Regions from separate parts of the Homo sapiens genome. Here region 1 is linked to region 2. Evidence: promoter capture Hi-C in human tissues and cell types (Jung and others, 2019). All regions are on one chromosome and are shown on one strand. The core of a region is centred on a gene start or on the middle of the fragment in contact, and the rest is flanking DNA. Distances in the headings are between cores, read along the strand shown.

Region 1 (2,898 bases), core at 216-2,715, 340 kb before region 2:
CTCGCGTTTCATGGACTTGGGATTCATTAAACTTCTTGGATCTTGGTATGTATAGTTTTCATCAAATTTGTAAAATTTTCTGCTTTATTTTTTTCCAATGTATATTTTTTCTTTCTCCTCCTCCTCTGTTCCAGAAGCTCTAGTTTACATATTCCTTGGGTCTTTGGAAGTTATCCATAGCTTCCTTCTTCTCTGTTTATTTTTTTTTCAATTTTTGTTTTTTCCATATGTTTTATTTTGGATAGTTTATATTATTATGTCTTCAAGTTAACTAATCTTTTTTTCTTCTGTGGTATTTAATCTTCTGTTAATCCCATCCAGTATATTTTTCATCTAAGATAATTGTATTTTCAGCTCTTGAAGTTTGACTTACATCTCTTTTCATTACATGTCTCTACTTAACATGCTCAATCTTTCCTGAAGCTTCTTGAACGTGGAGAATTAGAATTATAATAATTGTTTTCTCATCCGGTTGACTAATTCCATCATCTCTAGTATTTCTGAATCAGTTTTGCTTGATTGGGTTTTCTCCTGATTATAGGGCATATTTTCCTGTTTCTTTGCATGCCTGGGTAATCTTTTCTTAAATCCCAGACATCATAAATGTTACCTTGTTAGGTGCTTGACGTTTATATTCCTATAAATACTGTTTTCAGACACAGTTAAGTTACTTAGAAACAGTTTGATCCTCTTGAGGCTTGGTTTTAAGTTCTGTTAGGTGGGACCAGAGCATCATTTAGTCTAGGGTGAATTTCACCCCACTACTGGGCTGACACCCTACTGAGTACTCTCCTGGGTGCCCAGAAGCTGTGAGATTGTCCAGTCTGGCTGGTGGGAACAGGCACTACTCCCAGCCCTTCGTGAGCATGGGCACTGTTGCTGCGAATGCTTCTGGGTGGGTCTTTCCTCCCATGCAGTTTGCCCACCCATGTGCTGATCAGCCCTCTACTGAATGCTAGGGGTCGGGGGAGATCCCTCTGCACATCTCAGAAACTCCCTTTCTGTGCCTCTCGTTCTTCTGTCCTGTGGACTCCAGCTGCCTCGGCCTCATCAGACTCCCAGTTCCATCTCAATTCAGAAAGACCCTGGCTCTGTCTCAGTCCTCCTCCCTGCACCATGGCCTGGAAACTGTCTCCAGACAGCAAGCTGGCGCAATCGCAGGGCTCACATTGTTTGTCTCAGGGATTACCGTCTTGAACTGTCTGATGTCTCATGTCTGAAAATTGTTGATTTCACATGTTTTGTCCAGATTTTTAGATGCTTCAGGAGGGAGGGGAATTCTAGTCCCTGTTATCCTTCCTAGTGAGAGGTAAAAGTTCATCAAATATTTGCTGACTGTCAAATATTTATTCCATACCAATGATTATCGAGAGCCAGGTGACTTCTATGCATTTGAGCTGCACTGGAGAGCAAGCTCTGACAGCTCGACCCTCGGGGTGGACACGAGGACAGTGAGGTGGTCTAAACCAGAAAATAAAAAATAAACAAAATAGAACAATGAATTATGTACAGAATGTTGGAAGTATTCACTGCTATGGAAAACAAGAAAGCAACAGAGCTGGTTAAGGGGTGCGTTAGGATCATGGTGACCAGAGGGTACGTTTGTAAATAGGGCAGTCCGGGTGGGTCTTACCAGGAAGGTGACATTTCTGCTTCCTCCCTCCTTCCCACCTGCCCCACCAAAACCCTAGTGCAATTATAAAGGCCACCAGGAAACCAACACAACTTCCTTACAGAGGCCTCATTCCACATCTTGGACTCCTGAAAGCCACCCCACCCCCTAATTTGATCCCCAAGGCCGGGCAGAGCACAGAGAGGAAAACGTGACCATGAGCAGGCTCCTCAGATGGCACGCGCCTCTGAGCCTGTCCAAGTGGTAATTAATTGGTATACGTGCTCCCAGAGCTGACAAATGTTTATTCTACAAAACCAAGAAGGAAGATCCAATGAGAAATCGCATTTTCCCTGGTGAGTGTCTGGGTCTCATCAGGCCTCTTGTGACCGAGGACAGCCGAACTGCACAGCTCACACTGGCCATCATCTGTGTGTTCCCAGAAGGTCGCGGTGTTTCCACAGTTGAGTCCATGGCGGGAGGTCCTAGCCCGTGTTCGGACGTCAGTGGTGCCAGCGGTGTGGCCACATGCCCCTCCCTAGAAGAGAGCCATGCCTTAAGTTACCCTTGAGTGGTGCTTCTGCCCAAATGCTGTGACCTCTTCTTTCCAGGAGTGATCGTGCCCTGCCAGTGATGCCTCTGTTGCTGGGCAGGCCCCACCACATGAAGTATGGGGGCTTTCCTTGCAGCCTCCCTGGTCACAGCTCACCTCCCATGACATGTGAAGTGTCATGGGAGGTGACTCTGCTCTTCTTCTGGGCTTCCTGGGGCATAGTCCCCAACTCACACTCCTAGCCCCCTGCCCCATTGCCATGGACAGACCCATTCCCTACACGGTGTGTCTCCCTCTTTGTTATGGAGTGCATGGTTGTGTCCCCCCAGATGCGATGTTGAAATCCTAACCCCCAAAGTGATGATATTAGGAAGTGGGGCCTTTGGGAGGTGACTAGGTCACGAGGGTGGAGCCCTCACGAATGAGATTAGTGCCCTCTAAAAGGGGCCCCAGAGAGCTCTCTCACCCTCTTTCTACCATGTGAGGACACAATGAGACGACAGCTGTCTGCAGCCCAGGAGAGGGCCTTCCCCAGAACCTGACCATGTTGGCAACCTGACTTCCAGCTTCCCGGACTTGTAGAAGTAAAGCTGGGCTATCTGTAGGCTGCCCAGGCTTTGGAAATTTGTCATGGCAGCAGCAACTCACTAAGGCGCTGCATGCTCTCAGCCGGTGACTCTGCCTTGGCCCCTCAGACCCTGCCCCATCCTCATGGATCTGTCCTGCCGCTGCC
Region 2 (3,255 bases), core at 125-2,624:
CCCCGCGCCGCGCGCAGCGAGGGATCAGAAGGTCTCGGACGCCGCGGCAGGGCCGGCCAGGGCCCCACGAGTTAGGGAGTTGCCCCGCACCCCTAAACGCTCAGCACCCATTTACGGTTGAAAGTACGCACTTGACGCGTCCGGGCGCCTCCGCGGTGAGTCGCGCCGCCGCTCTCGGGGTCCGCGAAGGTGGCTCAGTTCGGGCGCTCCAGTCTCGACGTTCCCGGGGTAGAGAGCAACGTCCGGGGACGAACGGGACGGGTGCGCCCAGCGGCCGGGGCTGCGCTGGGCGAGGCAAGCGGCGAGAGGGGAGCGCTCCGGCGTTCAGGCAACAGCTACCCCTAGTGGGAGAGCCGCCCGGGGCCGGCGCCGCCCCGCGCCCGCTGCCCCGCGCCCCACGCCCGTGGCGCCCCGCGCCCGGGTCGGCTGGGGGCGCAGGGCCGGCGCCGCTTTCCCCAGCTCTCCGGTCTCCGGCGCCCGGCGGTAACCCGCCCGCGGGCTCTGCCCTCCGCACCTCTCAGCCCGGCCCCGGCGGCCGCTGACCCAGGAACCGCGGCGCCCCGCTGGAACGAGATGGGACGGGGCGGGCGCGGCCAGGGCGGCGCGGGCTGGGGCGGCGCGCGGCAGCCTCGGGCAGCGGCGGGGGGCGCGGAGCGCGGTGTGCGTGGCGGGGCGGTGCGGGGGGCGGCCGTGTGCGAGGCGCGAGTGTGAGCGCGCGCGGGAGGCGGGCGGGCGGGCTCCGGCAGGCGAGCGGCGCCCGCGGGCGAGCCAGGAAGGCGGCGGGAACGCAAAGTTGCCTCCTCGCTGGCCCGCGTCCTCGGTGGGGCGGGAGCCGGGGCCACCGAAGCGGCGGCCGCGGACCCGGCCTCCCGCGGCACCTGGGCAGCGGCCCCGCACGAGCGGCAGCGGCGTGGGCGGCGTTGGCGGCGGCGCGCGGGAAGCGAACCGGAGCTCCGGCGCGGCTCGGCGGCCGCCGGGGAGCTCGGCTCAGGTGCGCGGCGAGGGGGGCGCGGGCCGGAGCCAGGCGGCGGGGACCAGGGCGGCGCGCAGCGCTCGCGCCAGCTGGAGGACCTCCCCAGCGGACGCCCAGGTCCCTGGTCGGGCTCCCGGTCCCCAGCGGCAGCGGCTGCCGGAGTCCCCCGCCCCCGAGAGCTGGCTGCGGGGCCCGGGCCCGCCCCCACCGGCCCCAGGCCCGGCCGCTCCGCCCTCCGCCCGCCTGCGCCCGCCCTCAGCCCAAGATTTCTAGGGCATTGGCCGCGCTGCTGGGTGATCCCTCCGGGCTCAAGTTGCAAGGGGGCGGGCCGGGCCGGAGGTGGAGTCTCCCGCCAATTGAAGCCTCCGCTATAAATTGAACTCCCTGCACTGCTGAAGCCCAGATGCCTCGCCAGGCCACGTCGCGGTTGGTGGTCGGAGAGGGCGAGGGGTCCCAGGGGGCTTCGGGGCCTGCAGCCACCATGCTCCGCTCCCTGCTGCTTCACTCCTTGAGGCTCTGCGCCCAGACCGCCTCGTGCCTCGTGCTCTTCCCGCGCTTCCTCGGCACGGCCTTCATGCTCTGGCTTCTCGATTTCTTGTGTATCCGCAAGCATTTCCTGGGCCGCCGCCGCCGGGGGCAGCCCGAGCCCGAAGTGGAGCTCAACAGTGAAGGCGAGGAGGTGCCTCCCGATGACCCGCCCATCTGCGTGTCCGACGACAACCGCCTGTGCACCCTGGCGTCGCTCAAGGCGGTGTGGCATGGCCAGAAGTTGGATTTCTTCAAGCAGGCGCACGAGGGCGGTCCGGCGCCCAACTCCGAGGTGGTTCTGCCCGACGGCTTCCAGAGCCAGCACATCCTCGACTACGCGCAAGGGAACCGCCCGCTGGTTCTCAATTTCGGCAGCTGCACCTGACCACCGTTCATGGCGCGCATGAGCGCCTTCCAGCGCCTGGTCACTAAGTACCAGCGCGACGTCGACTTCCTCATCATCTACATCGAGGAAGCGCACCCCTCCGACGGCTGGGTCACCACGGACTCTCCCTACATCATCCCACAGCACCGGAGCCTGGAGGACCGGGTCAGCGCAGCGAGGGTACTGCAGCAAGGTGCACCCGGCTGCGCTCTGGTCCTCGACACCATGGCCAACTCCAGCAGCTCGGCCTATGGCGCCTACTTCGAGCGTCTCTATGTCATCCAGAGTGGCACTATTATGTACCAGGGCGGCCGTGGCCCCGACGGCTACCAGGTCTCTGAGCTGCGCACTTGGTTGGAACGCTATGATGAGCAACTGCACGGCGCTCGGCCCCGGAGGGTGTAAACATCCAACGGACAATTGACTGAACTTGGTGGGCTGGGCCTTCGAGCCTTCGAAGCCCACGTGCAAGCGCCTCAAACCAAGTCACGCTTGGCGAGGCCCCAGTGACACTGATGTGCTGAGCCACCATTTCAGACTGAGTCTGCACCCTCAGCCACATGAACAATCTCCCCTACCTCCCTGGGACTCTGCTTCTGTAACTGTCTCATTCACACCTGCCTGGCTCACTGGAAATCCTCTTTTGAGCGCGGGATATGGCTTGCCCTTGTCCGTGTGCCCCCAGGACTTTGCCTCTACAGCATTTTCTTACACCCCCTCCCCAGCGTGCCCTCAGCCAAGTGCTTTGGCCCGGTGCTTCCCGCAGCTGCACAGAGACCTTGGCCACGCCCGCGCGCCCTGAGCGCAGCTGGGTTCCAGGAGACTCTCAGCTCAGCTGAGCTAGTTGCCTGGCACCCACCTGTCGCGCGCGGAGAGGGGGTTCCCTGTTGCTTTTGTGTCTGTTTCCTGTCCCTGGTAGGGGAAGTGATGTCGTGGATGGGGAGGGGTGGGCAGGGTAGTTTCCCCCGCTTGTTTTGGGTGCACAGGAGCCCCACTGCTGATGACGAACTATCTCTAACTGGTCTTGACCACGAGCTAGTTCTGAATTGCAGGGGCCTCAAAGCAGCACCTAAACCTTGAGGGGGAGGGTGCTCTGGGTTTCCGTGAGGTAACCACCTTAAATGGGAGGGAAGTTGGGGTGTCTGCTTTGGGACCAGAGGAAGATAGCTTGAGAGGCATTGGCGAGGTTCGCAGCGCCCCAGGGAGAGAGAAAAAGCTGAGACTCCTGGGGAATGACGTTGGGGTGATGGAGTCCGGGGAAAGAGAGGTGGGGGGAGAGCCTGAGGTCCCCAAGTGAGGGGAGTCCTAGGCAGAGCTGCTGATTGTGGGGCTGGGAGGTGGAGGGCCCCTGATTCGAAGGCCATTTGGT

What was found. The method cuts DNA at HindIII sites, captures the fragments that hold promoters and counts their contacts. A contact is called where the count stands out against the background at its distance.
Region 1: a contact is called between a fragment that was not itself captured here and the fragment with the promoter of DIO3 in region 2, in 2 of the 25 tissues and cell types used here (H1 embryonic stem cells and thymus).

What each region holds. Positions count from the first base shown.
Region 1 is chr14:101,219,168-101,222,065 of GRCh38, forward strand. No RefSeq gene overlaps it. Among named protein-coding and RNA genes, the nearest start is that of LINC02285, 100 kb to the left of the region's middle. RefSeq lists an enhancer at 2,378-2,898. The HindIII fragment of the contact is 9,586 bases long and covers 1-2,898 here.
Region 2 is chr14:101,560,121-101,563,375 of GRCh38, forward strand. It overlaps DIO3 (iodothyronine deiodinase 3), which reads left to right and starts at 1,375. Exons shown (of 1, transcript NM_001362.4): 1 at 1,375-3,255. The coding sequence starts at 1,377. The coding sequence ends at 2,291. DIO3OS (DIO3 opposite strand upstream RNA) reads right to left here and starts at 302. Exons shown (of 2, transcript NR_152588.1): 1 at 132-302. MIR1247 (microRNA 1247) reads right to left here and starts at 302; the gene lies at 167-302. The HindIII fragment of the contact is 20,870 bases long and covers 1-3,255 here.